Linked DNA regions of Homo sapiens: all the other regions are linked to region 5. Evidence: promoter capture Hi-C in 16 types of primary human blood cells and fetal thymus (Javierre and others, 2016). All regions are on one chromosome and are shown on one strand. The core of a region is centred on a gene start or on the middle of the fragment in contact, and the rest is flanking DNA. Distances in the headings are between cores, read along the strand shown. Region 1 overlaps LOC105369976 (a long non-coding RNA gene). Region 2 has its middle 5.7 kb from the start of IFT81. Region 3 overlaps PPP1CC (protein phosphatase 1 catalytic subunit gamma). Region 4 overlaps ANKRD13A (ankyrin repeat domain 13A). Region 5 holds the start of ANAPC7 (anaphase promoting complex subunit 7).

Evidence for each region. Contacts are between HindIII fragments. The CHiCAGO score rates a contact against its expected background, and 5 or more counts as called.
Region 1: a contact is called between a fragment that was not itself captured here and the fragment with the promoter of ANAPC7 in region 5, in 2 of 17 cell types (activated CD4 T cells and naive CD8 T cells). The highest score is 6.1, in activated CD4 T cells.
Region 2: a fragment that was not itself captured here is called in contact with the fragment with the promoter of ANAPC7 in region 5 in 1 of 17 cell types (M0 macrophages); the score reaches 6.0 in M0 macrophages.
Region 3: a contact is called between a fragment that was not itself captured here and the fragment with the promoter of ANAPC7 in region 5, in 1 of 17 cell types (total B cells). The highest score is 5.5, in total B cells.
Region 4: a fragment that was not itself captured here is called in contact with the fragment with the promoter of ANAPC7 in region 5 in 2 of 17 cell types (M0 macrophages and monocytes); the score reaches 7.0 in M0 macrophages.

What each region holds. Positions count from the first base shown.
Region 1 is chr12:110,083,928-110,086,646 of GRCh38, forward strand. The region is part of intron 2 of LOC105369976 (a long non-coding RNA gene); the gene reads right to left. Among named protein-coding and RNA genes, the nearest start is that of C12orf76, 37 kb to the left of the region's middle. The HindIII fragment of the contact is 542 bases long and covers 1,063-1,604 here.
Region 2 is chr12:110,117,251-110,120,098 of GRCh38, forward strand. No RefSeq gene overlaps it. Among named protein-coding and RNA genes, the nearest start is that of IFT81, 5.7 kb to the right of the region's middle. RefSeq lists a cis regulatory region at 1,134-1,405. The HindIII fragment of the contact is 4,390 bases long and covers 1-2,848 here.
Region 3 is chr12:110,732,228-110,734,927 of GRCh38, forward strand. All of the region lies in intron 1 of PPP1CC (protein phosphatase 1 catalytic subunit gamma), which reads right to left. Among named protein-coding and RNA genes, the nearest start is that of PPP1CC, 9.3 kb to the right of the region's middle. The HindIII fragment of the contact is 476 bases long and covers 1,184-1,659 here.
Region 4 is chr12:110,031,681-110,034,510 of GRCh38, forward strand. ANKRD13A (ankyrin repeat domain 13A) reads left to right here. Exons shown (of 15, transcript NM_033121.2): 13 at 2,117-2,277. Among named protein-coding and RNA genes, the nearest start is that of C12orf76, 15 kb to the right of the region's middle. The HindIII fragment of the contact is 2,080 bases long and covers 359-2,438 here.
Region 5 is chr12:110,402,383-110,405,214 of GRCh38, forward strand. It overlaps ANAPC7 (anaphase promoting complex subunit 7), which reads right to left and starts at 1,326. Exons shown (of 11, transcript NM_016238.3): 1 at 1,145-1,326. The coding sequence starts at 1,245. The HindIII fragment of the contact is 41,113 bases long and covers 1-2,832 here.

The sequences.
Region 1 (2,719 bases), core at 84-2,583, 320 kb before region 5:
CTACTTTTGTATTTTTAGTAGAGATGGGGTTTCACCATGTTGGCCAGGCTGGCCTTGAATTCTTGACCTCAAGTGATCCACCCGCCTCGGCCTCCCAAAGTGCTGGGATTACAGGTGTGAGCCATGAGATGGAGTCTTGCTCTGTCGCTCAGTCTGGAGTGCAGTGGCAAGATCTTGGGTCACTGCAACCTCCACCTCCTGGGTTCAAAGGATTCTCCTGCCTCAGCCTCCTTAGTAGCTGGGATTACAGGCGTGCACCACCACCCCCAGCTAATTTTTGTATTTTTTTTAGTAGAGACAGGGTTTCACCATGTTGGCCAGGCTGGTCTCAAACTCCTGAGTTCAACACAAATATTGAAATAGGAGGCAGGGTAGTCCCAGCCACTTGGGAGGCTGAGGTAGGAGGATCACCTTGAACTCAGGAGGTCAAGACTGCAGTAAGCCATGATTGTACCACTTCACCCCAGTCTGGGCAACAGAGTAAGACCCTGTCTCAAAAAAAAAAAAAGAAAAAGAAAGAGAGAAAGAAAGAAAAAGAAGGAAGGAAGGAAAGGAAGGAAGGAAGGATGGAAGGAAGGAGGGAAAGAATAGAAAAAGAAATAGGAGGCAGAGTTGTCTGATGAGAATGAGAGGAAAGGCAAGAGGGTGGGAAGTGGGATGAGTGTCAAGAAGATTCAAAATAGTTGCTATGGTGAACGGGAGGAGAGCGCCAACAGGGAAAACAGGAATTCCCGGGTGGTGGTAAGAATTAGAGACCATGAATTTGTTATTGCCAGCAGTCTAAGTGACAGATTATGGGAGCAACCTGGGGCCTTCCCACCAACAGGAACGGCCTTCCACCTCCACACCCAGCAACCCACCAGGACTTGCCAAGTGGTTCACATAATTTTAAGGTATGTCATCATTGGTGTCTACTGTTTGTTATGGTGTCAACATGTGTTACTGGGACTGTAACTAGCCAGGCCCAAGATACAGCAGCAAAAGGCTGATTCTGTTGCTCTGCCCATAGATCACCCTTTCCTGGGACTTGCATCCCCTGTCAGGCCACAACATAGAGCAGAAAGCTTTTCTTTGTCCCCTGACTCAACTCAGCCACTGGGAATGACTTGGTTCACTCAGCTTAATCTGGATATACCTACCCTACCTTCTTATAAATGCTGGGTTTATTTAAACCTCAAGATCTCCCCTCTATTCCTCTCTACCCAAGCTGAATACCCATGCTATCCTTGGGAAATTCAAAAAATACCTGTTTCCTAGTCAAGATAGCTGGCCATTTTACATAACAACCCAGGTCTTCTGCAACCCTAAACAAAGGCTGGAGATAGATGAGGAAAACTAAGGCTCTCCTAATGGTGGAGGGTAGAGAGACGTCTGAGGTTTCTGGAGGACTGAGGACCTGTTGTCTTCTCCACCAGTCTAACCAGAACAGGTATAAACATCATGGAAGGAAATTTACATTGATCCAGGACTGGGCTTTTGCCACAAGTTGCAAATTATGTTATTTAGGGTGCTTTTGTGTGAAAGTAGCAGAATGCCTGACTCAAGCTGGCTTAAATATGAAATAAATGGTTATTTCATGTACTAGGATATCCTGGGGCAAGATAAGCTTCAGAGTGTGTTGATTTAGTGGCTTGACAACATAGTCAAGGATCTGGGTTCTTTCTTTCTCTCTGTACTGCCACCCTTGTTGTTGGGTTCGTCCTCAGAAAGAAAGATAATCAATTCTTTTGTCTCTTTCATGGGAAAATCTTTCCCAGAGTCCCTTTCGTCCCACCTCACTCTACCCTCTAGTGCTAGAAGTGAGTCACACGCCTGTTCCTCTCCTGACAAAAGACAGGGAATGACCATGACCTGCTTGGACCAACCATCTGGGTTGGAATGGATGTCGGGGAGTCGTTCACAACATCCATGCCTGGATATAGCAAAGATCATGGAATCTAGGCTGGATGGGAAAGGAATTGGAGGAAGGAGGGTCCTGAGAGGGAGAAAGTGGAAGGGCCAAGGGATTCTGTAGTTCAAAGAACTGCTAAGCTGGAATGACCAAAAGAACAGAAGGTGCAAGCCTGTGATCAGAGAAATGTGAGACTTTAGAGGAAGATTTTTTCCAGGAGAAACCAAGGTCCAGGACATGGTCCAGGGAAATGGTGGCTAAAGCAGAGTGGAGGTGAAGGTCATTGGAATAAGAAGGGACAGGAGCTGAGGGGCCAGGAGTTCGGCCAGGTCCTAGGTCATTAAAGTCACCAGTATGGCAGTAGGAACTGGGGTGAGAAGGATAAGCCAGTTGCCAAAGCCCTTTGAGAATAAGGGTTGATAGGTTGGTTGACTGATTGATGAGTAGGCATCATCAATGAGAGGGCACAGAAGGTGGTACAGCCAGATGCCAGGAGCCTCAGCACTTACTCAAGATGGAGGACTATGGATCTAGTAATAGAGGTGTGGAGGACAGAGGACACCATGGGGTTGGGAGAAGGACCACCATTCCCTGGTAAGGGCTTCAAGGACTATCAGGGAAGAGCCAGGGCTTACTTAGGGCAGGAAGTAGAGGGAACTGTTTGTGCAGAGGTCATGACCTTAAAAATAAAGAGCACGCCCCACTCTTCCTTTACTCCATCTCACAGGCTGGAATGAGAATCTGTAAGTGAGCCACCTTTGACCCAGAATTTGGGAACTCATACCCCTCACTTGCTAGTTGGTAATAGAAGCACGCTTGAAACAGTCC
Region 2 (2,848 bases), core at 168-2,667, 290 kb before region 5:
ACTAAGAATGTTAGGTGCATCCTGGCTAGGCACGGTGGCTCACACCTGTAATCTCAGCACTTTGGGAGGCCAAGGTGGGCGGCTCACTTGAGGTCAGGAGTTTGAGACCAGCCTGAGCAACATAGTGAGACCTCATCTCTAAAAAAAAAAAAAAAAAAAAAAAAAAAAAATTAGCTGGATATGGTGGCGCCACCTGTAGTCCCAACTTTTCGGGAGGCTGAGGCCGGGAGGTACAGGCTGCAGTGAGTTATGATCACGCCACTGCATTCCAGCGTGGGTGACAGAGTGACATCGTGTCACTGAAAAAAAAAAGTTAGATGCATCCTATATTTCAATCCATACTGATGACTAAGGAGTTAATATGAATTGCGTATTATTTTGGCTATTCTACATTGCCCATTAATCTCATCAGCAATTTCCAGCCTTTGTGAACCATAGCACATTTATAAATACAAAACCCATTTTATAAAAGCCATCTGAGAAAAATATAGTACCAGGCACACATTTAAGAAGACCTCTGGAATCTCATCCATTTAAGTTGAGTATTTCACATATTATTTATCTTTTTACCTTTTAAGAAAGCACATTCTGCTACTAAACATACCCACAAGATTAAATTGTCAGAACAGAGACAATTTAGGATATCTGCAAAATGCAATTCAGGTTTCCGTTCAAATTTAATTTCTTTCCTCTCCAAGTAACCTGGATGGCAAAGGCATTAAATGACAATTAATGGATAACAGAATAACCCTCTTCTGAATTTGTTTCTGCGTCTGGGTCATTTTTCCCAGTTTTAAAAGAATGAGATAAAGTGGGCAGCCTGCAGAATAGCCCCAGATGGGATAGCATCTTGAATCCTGGCACTCGCTGAATACTCGTGCAGAATCCAGAAATATCTCATGGTCAGGATGAAAGGTCTAAATTTAATACCAAAAACAGAAAATTGGCTTGGCTTCCCTGTACTCTGCACAGGAAAGTTCTTGTTTGGAAGTTCTGAAATGAGAAGGGATTGGAGACATTATATTCATGGCCATCCTCAGATGTTTGTGGGGGATCCGGAGAGGTCTGCTGGGTTATCCCAAGACCTTGTTTGGCCCACAGTGGAAGACCACATTGAAGAAAGATAATTCGTGGAAGGAAATCAGGGAGAAGGTTCTCATTGATACAGATGCTCTCTGCCACGAGTGCAGGCTCATTCCTTCCTCTTCCGGTTTTTCTTATGCAGCTTTCCAGATTTACCAGCCTTCCCTGACCACCTGGTCTTCCCTGATCTACTGGTCTTGTTTGCATAGCATCTCTATCTCTGATAAGAGGATCCAGCACTTCCTTTGGGTCTGACACACTTCAGACCAATGAGAGTGAGCCCTGGAAATTTGCTGAAACTATTGGATTAAAAGTTCTACTTTTTTTCTTTTTCTTTTCTTTTTCTTTTTTTTTTTTTTTTATTTGAGACAGGATCTCACTCTCTCACCCAGGCTGGAATGCAGCAGTAAGATCTCAGCTCACTGCAACCTCCGCCTCCTGGGTTCAGGCGATTCTCCTGCCTCAGCCTCCCAAGTAGCTGGGATTACAGGCACCTGCCACCACGCCCAGCTAATTTTTGTATTTTTTTTGTAGAGACAGGGTTTTACCATGTTGGCCAGGGTGGTCTCGAACCGCTGACCTCAAGTGATCCTCCTGCCTTGGCCTCTTAAAGTGCTGGGATTACAGGCATGAGCCATTGTGCCCAGCCTAAATGTCTCTTTCTAAGAAGCTGGAATTGTCAGCCTCTTTTTTTCACTTCTCAGCTTCCTCAGACCTTGGGGGTAGGTTTGCATAGGCCTGCTCACCTCAGAACAACTTCACAATTACATGAGATAAAACCTCTTCTCTTTATTTTTTATCTTATAACTAAACTGAGGCTTGAAAAATACACTTTACCAGGAGTAATTTTCCCCCTCTGAATAATCGGACCAAAGGTTCAAAACTGTGGATACCCCTTATTATCTACGCAGTTAAATAAGGAGATAAGAAGGGGCAGCTTCAAGTCTTTCTCACCTCCTCCTCACCTTGCCTCACCCTCTCCTCCAGTGGAAGATGGTGAACATTTGAAGCCCATCCATGTAAGCAGCATCTTCTTATCAGATGGCTTCTGGTGAGAAACAGATTGGGAATTCTAGTGCTTTGGTAGCAAGGGATGAGTAGGTTTCAGTAACAGGTCCGTTATAACCAAAAACTACTAAAGGCTCCACATCTTGGGTCCTGTAATCTACAACCATGGGTACCCAACAGGCCAAAAATTAACAAAAGTTGAAAGGAAGAGACACTGTAAGAATGAATCCTCTCTCCCGTCCTGCTGATGTATATACCCTGTCACCTGACCTAGGCAATGGAATCCTTATTCATAAGGGGGCGAAAGTGTGTATACAAATGTTCATAGCAGATTATTCATAGTAGCAAAAAAGTGGAACCAACTCAAATGTTCAGGAATAGAAAATGCGTAAAGAAAATGTGGTCTATCCATAGAATGGAATTATTTGGCAATAAAAGGGAATGACGGGCTGGGCATGGTGGCTCACACCTGTAATCCCAGCACTTCGGGAGGCTGAGGTGGGTGGATCACTTGAAGCTAGGAGTTCAAGACCAGCCTGGTCAACATGGCAAAACCCCGTATCAACTAAAAATACAAAAAATTAGCCAGGCGTGGTGGCGCACACCTGTAGTCCCAGCTACTCAGGAGGCTGAGGCAGGAGAATCGCTTGAACTCGGGAGGTTTGAACCCAGGAGGCAGTGGTTGCAGTGAGCCAAGATCATGCCACCGCACTCCAGCCTGGGAGACAGAGGGAGACTCCACCTTAAAAAACAACAA
Region 3 (2,700 bases), core at 172-2,671, 330 kb after region 5:
GGGCAGATCATGATGAGGTCAAGAGATCCAGACCATCCTCGCCAACATGGCGTGCACCTGTAATCCCAGCTACTCAGGAGAATCGCCTGCACCCGGGAGGCGGAGGTTGCAGTGAGCCAAGATCGCGCCACTGCACTCCAGCCTGGCAACACAGCGAGACTCCGTCTCAAAAAAAAAAAAGAAAAGGAAAGAAAAGAAAAGAAAAGAAACAGGATTGGAAATACTCAGAACCCTCCCCCATCAGTGTTTTCCAGAGGACCATGGGTATCTCCTCCTGAGGATCTCTGATTTAATTTACCTATGAAAAAATGTTAGTGTTGTTTTCATTTCATTAAGAAAATGTTGGTTCATTGTACTTATTTTGCCATGCATTTTCTGGGCCTGCATTTGTGTTTATGCTCATGTCTATATAGGGCAAAGGATGTCAGTCATGTGCTATACTGTAAGAAAGCACGTTCCCTAATAATTTGAACAGATAAGATAATAATGGGAGAAAGAAATCATTGCACAGCATGGGGCATCCACACCACCAGAGCACTTAGGGTTCTTCTATCAAAGTACAAACTTTGCAACAGAACTCACTTGTCAGCACGTAGGTAGTTGTGGGAAAGAAATTTTGTTTTGGTTCCAGTTGTAACAGACTGGATAGTCATTAGATACAGATAAAGTAGCACGGAACTGCTAAATGTACCTTAATTTTACAGTTATAAAGTTCACTTTTGGACCCCAAAATATGTAACTAAGTCTCGTTCTGATAAAAATATTATACAACAAGAAGCAATAAAAGCATAGTAATAATAGTCTTCGAGGAAAGATATGAAACAGATGCATATTTAATAAAACAGCAACTGAGCAACAAAAATGTTTTTTTCGTAAGTAATTTTTTTTCTCTCTAGACACACATACAGAGTTAGAACTCAGGAAATACTCCCGGTGAAAGATGGGATCCCCACTTCATTGGCCAGAAAATGCCAATCATTAGTGATTTCACCATAAGTTAACCAAAAACTTGGGCAGACTGCCCAGCAGGAAGCTTTATTTTTGGCTAGGAAGGAAATCCTAGAAGCTTCTGGTTTCAACGTGAATTTTTTTCAGCAGAGTCCCACACTTATGAATGAATAGCTGACTCTAAGTCTTCTAGGAGAGTATTTCTGCGATAAATAGCTCATACCATATAATGGCAAGCTTTGTTTTATGAATGCTATTGCAGTTAGTCAATGCCATCAGATGAAATCAATGTTGCTAACAATTTTTTTTTTTGGCTTTGGACGCTCTCCACTGTCACCTTTGAACATAGTTTATATTTGTTTTAACTCCTTTATTCTGTTTCTGTTTGTCCTCTGGGTGGGGACATTCAGAGATCAGTAAAAAGCAAAAGCAATACTAACAACAATTTAAAAATTCTTCTTTTTTGAAGAAGCCTGGTGCCCAGGCTGGAGTGCAGTGGCATGATCATGGCTTACTGCAGCCTCAACCTTCCAGGCTCAAGTGATCCTCTTGCTCTGGCCCCCCAAGTGCCGGGATTACAGGCATGAGCCACTGCACCTGGCCTTAAAAATTACTCTTAATATTAAGATTAGATGCAGCTTTTCCAGAGAAAATAAAGATTTGTATTTAAAGAATGGTGCTTATGAAAAACATCAACAAACATGGTCTGAAAGCTTCTTAAATTCCCTAAAATTAGCAGAAAGAAAAAAGTTATATAAAGATAGAAACTGCCAAAACCATCTTCCATCAGTTATCATACAACTGCTCAGACTTCAGGCCTCTGCTCAGATACCACACTTCACCCTGGAGAAAAGCTTCTCTCATCCATCTCCTCTCCCCTCACAAGCTTGCTGCATGCTTTTTGAAAGGCTCTCTCAACATCAGGTCACTACCCACCACACCCCCTCAACCATGCTTGTATTTGTTTTATACTTGCCAGTTTGCTTCTGCCGGCTCATCTGGACCCACTGGTAGAATGTAAACCCACAGCAGCAGTCCTGCTCTGTAGTGTACACCAGCCATAGCCAGCACACAGCAGGTGCTCAAAATTTGTTGCATGACTGAAATCTGGATAAGTCTTTAAGTAGTGTTGACTGGTGGCATTAGAATTAAACATATATTCCAGACTATATATTTATTTATTTAGAGACGGAGTTTCACTCTTGTTGCCCAGGCTGGAGTGCAATGGCACGATCTCGGCTCACTGCAACCTCCGTCTCCCGGGTTCAAGCAATTATCCTGCCTCAGCCTCCCGAGTACCTGGGATTACAGGCATGCGCCACCACATCCAGCTAATTTTATACTTTTAGTACAGATGGGGTTTCTCCATATTGGTCAGGCTGGTCTCGAACTCCCGACCTCAGGTGATCCACTGCCTCGGCGCCCAAAGTGCCAGGATTACAGGTGTGAGCCACCGTGCCCAGCCCAGACTATATACTTTTGATGAGCAAAAAGCCTGTTTCTGCACTATAAAATTATAAAACAATAGGGCCACTTGCTTACCAGGCTTTACTGGAGTATTTTTCAAAGTATGAAAATCTAGAATTACTCTTAAATTTCACGTTGAATTGTCTAACAGAGATTTCAAATGGGGCTTGGCAGTCCAAGTGAACACTGGAGAGTTCTTAAAAGTTGTCATATCAGGCTGGGCGTGGTGGCTGGTTACTGCGGAGGCTGAGGCAGAAGAATCGCTTGAACCCGGGAGGTGGAGGT
Region 4 (2,830 bases), core at 149-2,648, 370 kb before region 5:
TAGTCAAGGTAGACAGCATTTCCATATGCCCCCAAATTTCCTTACACTCCTTTGCCATCAATACAATTCATGATTTTAGATGCAATTGTAAATGGACTTATTTTCTTAATTTCATTTCCAGTTACTAGTATATAGAAATATAATTGAGTTTTGTATTTTGACCTTGAATCGTTTTTAAAAATTTTTTATCTTTTTTTTTTCTTACACAATTGCATGGCCAGGATTGACCTTGTTTATCTTGTAACATGGCTGAATTTACTTGTCTTACACTTTTTTGTAGATTTCTTAGAATTTCTTACATATATGGTCATGTTGTCTATTAATAAAGAAAATTTTACTTTTTCCTTTCTAATCTTTAAGCTTTTCATTTCTTTTTCTTGACTTACTGGACTGGCTAGGACATCTAGTACAATGTTGAGTAAGAGTGGTAGGAATGGCTGTCCTTGTCTTGTTCCTGGTTCTAGGGGAGGAAGGATTGTTGTGCCATTAGGTATGATGTTAGCTGTGTAGGTTTTTTATAAATGTCCCTTATTAGTTGGAGGACATTATTCTCTTATATTTCTAGTTTGCTGAGAGTTATTACCATTTTTAAGTATTGATTTTTGTGAGATGTGTTTTCTGCAACTATCATGATGGTCCTATGTTTCTCCCCTGTAGTCTACCAGTAGGAGGAATTAAAAGATAGCATTTTAATGTATATAAATTAAGACTTCAAATAAAAACAATTGAACTCGACAATAATATACACCTTTACATTCCCATGTAGCAACAAAGTTGGGTGAGATGTGTTCATGAGGTTGTGCAGCTAAGGAACACTCGTGCACTCTTGGCTGGAAGAGGAGATTGGTATAGTTCCTTGAATAAAACATTCGGCATTACTGTATAAACTGAAGATGTGGATGACCTAGCAATTCCTAGATGTGTACCCTAAAGAAAGTTATGCACATGAGCATCTGGAGACCCCAGTACTGGGCAGCAGCATCCATTCATAACAGCAGAAACCTGGAAACGACCCAAATGTCCCGAGATGGTAGAATGCGCTATTGTGCTCTATTAATACAACAGAATAACATATAGTATTGAAAATAAAAATTTATAGCTATGTGCGTCAAAACTGTTGAATTTCAAAAGCATAATGTTGAATGAAGAAAATCCAATTTGAAGAATAAATTCCGCATGATTCCATTTATGTCGAGTTCACAAACAGGCTAATACAAACTATTAGGATGATATACATGTGGCAAGCTCCAGAGAAGAGCTAGGCAGTGTAAACAACTATTCTGAATTATGTATTTACCTCTGGAGAGGAAGAAGGGAATATTGTTAACAAGGGATGTGCCCGCAGTATGGTATTGATAGTGTTTTTTTCTTTTTCTTTTTTTTTTTTTTTTTTGAGACAGTCTTACTCTGTCACCCAGGCTGGAGTGCAGTGGTGCGATCTTGGCTCACTGCAAGCTCCGCCTCCCGGGTTCATGCCATTCTCCTGCCTCAGCCTCCCGAGTAGCTGGGACTACAGGTGCCCGCCACCACGCCCGGCTAATTTTTTTTTTTTTTTGTATTTTTAGTAGAGACGGGGTTTCACCATGTTAGCCAAGATGGTCTCGATCTCCTGACCTTGTGATCTGCCTGCCTCAGCCTCCCAAAGTGCTGGGACTACAGGCGTGAGCCACCGCGCCCGGCAGTTATTGATAGTGTTCTGTGTCTTAGGCTAGGTGAAGGGCACACAGGCATTTGTTTAATTATTATCATTTTTAAGTGTTCAGATATTTTATATATACTTTTATATATTTACCATATATCTTCCTGCAAAAGGAAGAAACACATTGGTGTGACTGTGCGTATATGTTTAGGGGGAGAAATCTGCGCTTTTCATTTTATAGTCTTGTGTATTTTTTTATGACTGTGTTCGTTGTTTCCACTAAAATCAAGGAAAAAGAAAAAAGCTGTATTCTGTCACTTTTTTCTGTCATGCTTCCTCAGAATCTCTCATATAATAGTAAGCCTTGATTGTTATAATTTTGAGCCTTTCTTTTTTTTCTAATGTACAACATTTTTGCAAAAAGTTGGAGTGGAAATGTAATGAACTCAGACACTGGACGGTTGCCTTTTGTTTCAGCTTCCCACATCACAAACTTTGAGGTTGATCAATCTGTGTTTGAAATTCCCGAATCTTACTATGTTCAAGACAATGGCAGAAATGTGCATTTGCAAGATGAAGATTACGAGATAATGCAGTTTGCCATCCAGCAAAGTCTGCTGGAGTCCAGCAGGAGCCAGGTGTGTTTATCAGAATACTCTAATGGCAGGGCGTGGGAGGTCTTACCCTCTGGGTTAGCCTCAGTGTTTGGCTAATCTGAAAGATTTATTCTAAATATCAAGTTTGACACATTCATGGTATTTGCATAGGTTATACTTTGTGCATCTGGTCTTCTTACAAAAGCTTGTTATGTAAGAGACCATCTACATAATCCCAGTCAGCACCATTCACAAGATGTCTTCAGGCAGACTTTCCTTTTCCTCATATTCACGCACATAGCTTGTAATTCTGTACTTTTTGAGATGTGCTTCATCATTTTCTAGCACTGAAGCAGTATCATATTTTTCCTGAAGGATTACCTGTGTGTCAGTAGTCTCGGATGAAGGTAGTGAAGTGGATTTGAATCCCACTTCCTCCACAAAGGGTACCATCTCCCTAAACTCTCTCTGGGTCTCTAGTGAAACAGAAAATGAAGGACAGGACAGACCTGTGTAAGCAGTAGGCTTTGTGTGTGTGTGTGTGACTCTATGTTGCCCAAGTCGGAGTGCAGTGGCTGTTCCCCGGCATGATCAT
Region 5 (2,832 bases), core at 76-2,575:
GCAGTGGTGCTACTTCGGCTCACTGCAAGCTCCGCCTCCCGGGTTCACGTTATTCTTCTGCCTCAGCCTCCCGAGTAGCTGGGACTACAGGCGCCCGCCACCACGCCTGGCTAAATTTTTTTGGTATTTTTTAAGCAGAGACGGGGTTACACTGTGTTAGCCAGGATGATCTCGATCTCCTGACCTCGTGATCCGCCCGCCTCGGCCTCCCAAAGTGCTGGGATTACAGGCATGAGCCACTACGCCCGGCCAATAAAGGATATTAAGCAGGAGAGGGACATGCACTCAAGGATGGAATCAGCTCAGTGCTTCAAGGAAACATGAAAGGCGCCACGCCCACCCATTAATGGAGTCTCCCGTTTCCTTTTTTTGAGACAGGCAGTCGTTCTGTCGCCCACGGTAAAGGACAATGATGCGATCACGGCTCACTGCAGCCTCGACCTCCTGGGTTCAAGCGATCCTCCTGCCTCAGCCTCCCGAGTAGCTGGGACCGCAGGCACGCACCATCACGCCCGGCTAATTGTTTAATTTTTACTTTTCGTAGAGGCAGGGTCTCCCTATGTTGCCCAGGTTGGTCTTGAACTCCTGGGCTCAAGCGATCCTCCCGCCTCGGCCTCCCAAAGGGCTCGTATTAGAGGCGTGAGCCACCGCGCCCGGCCCCGTTTTCAGGGGTTTCCCAAGGCCAGAAAGTGGACCCTCCTGATACACTTAACGGGGGGACCAATCTCAGATGCGGGGGCTAGCGCATAAAAACCAGGAGGCTGGGTCCCTGAGCTGCAGCGAGAGAAAAAAACGTTCTTCTGGAAGGAGCCGAGAGGGAAGGATTCAGCCTAGCGATGTGACAGTCGCGCTGCCCCGCGACAGGTGCCTCAGGAAACCCTCGCCTGGGTCGTCCTCAGAGCCTCTGCCTTCTATGTCTCCAAGCCGCCGCTCGCCACATCCCCGCGGGACTTGACGCCGGCACCCAGTGAACCCAACTTGCGCTCCGAAGTCTGCTCCGCTCCAGGACGCCCTCGCAGACCCCGGAGCCTCCGCTGGCGCCGGCGGCCGCTCCTTCCCGCCTGTTCCCACGTGCCCTGAGCCCCCGCTCCCAGACCGCCGCCGCTTTCTCCTCAGCCCCAGGCAGCTACCCGCCTCAACTCACGGGTTGTTATTACTCATTGTAAGTAACAAGCTGCTGAGGAGCCGCACGTTGGAGTGCAGCCCCGCGGCCGCCATGTCCCGCACGTGGTCTATCACATTCATCCTGCTCTGCAAAGCCGCGGGCAGCGGCGGCAGCACTGACTCGAAAAGCCGGTAGAGGATCCTTAGGGAAGACTCCAAAATGGCGGCGTCGCCGGGGTCCATCGGGTCCACACGCGGCACCACCCCCAAGCAAGAGGTAACTACTGAAGTGCCCGAATAAAAAGAAACTCGAGTCCCTGCTCCTGTCGTGGTCCTTTTCAGGTGAAATGAGTTGTTATTTTTACGCAAAAATCACGTTATCATCCTAAACTGCAAACTTTACTGAGGATTTACAATGAGACAAAAGGCACCTTATAAGACTACTCGGTCAATTTGAATGAGTCTGAGAGGAATTTGTGCCTCTCAGAAATTAAAATGTGTGGGTATTTACCGAAATAAAATACAGTAAGGTGAGGAAAAACGCTCCAACTGGAATTAAATATTCTAATCGGGCGCCAGGGACAGACCTAACGGCCTTTACAGTGGCGCATGCGCACCAGGCTAGGGCCGCCGCGCCCCTCCTCAGGTGTTTTGTGTTCCTGCCAAGTCAGGCTTCGGCCCTGGGGGAACTCCTTGGTTCGAGGGGTATATTTCCCCATGTAAAATTATTCCCTAGATCCGTGGAAATAAAGGCTGGATCCAGGAATTAGCTGATACCCATATAAACCAGTATGTGTCTGGCACACTTAACGTTTTAGGAAAGTTTTACACAAGTTATTGGGACGCTCACAACAATCCATAAAGTTGAAGTTGTCATTCCCTTCCCACAAGGGAAGAAACTGCCTGCTTAAATTTTGTGCTCAGGTTGTTAAATGGTTGACTTGGAATCAGATCGACTGGTTAATTATGTTGGATCGCAAACTCAAATGTATACAGGGACCAGGGAGGTAACTGAGCCAATGAGGCAGTTTAGGTCGTTGAGTCAGAGTCCGAATATTCTCCACAGTCATCCTCTCAGATCTAGCCTATCGCTCCTTTCTTAAAGGAGACAGTCGTTTTGGTCTAGATTTTGTTTTCATTTGATTTTTACAGTAGTAGATGCAAAAAAAATGCTCTGAAAAAATCACAGTGTATCTTCATCAGCAACTTTTTCAGCTCTTAACATTTTGTCACAGTTGAAGCTCCTGTAGATCCTTTTCCCATCTCATCCCCTACTCTAGTTTCCTGGATGTGTGAGACCTTCTATTTGATTTTGGTGGGCATCATCACTGTGAACTTTTCTTTTTTCTTTTTTTCGAGACGGAGTTTTGCTCTTGTCGCCCAGGCTGGAGTGCAAAATCTCAGCTCACTGCAACCTCTGTCACCCGGGTTCAAGGAATTCTCCCTGCCTCAGCTTCCCGAGTAGCTGGGATTACAGGCGCCTGCCACCACTGTCATGTGCGTCCGTGTGAAGAGACCACCAAACAGGCTTTGTGTGAGCAACAAGGCTGTTTGTTTCACCTGGGTGCAGGCAGGATGGTAGCAGCACGAGCCATAGGCAAAACTCCTCAGACACCAAGTTAAAGAAGGAAGGAGTATATTCGGCTGGGAGCATCAGCAAGGCTCCTGTCTCAAGAGCCGAGCTCCCCGAGTGAGCAATTCCTGTCCCTTTTAAGGGCTCACAATTCT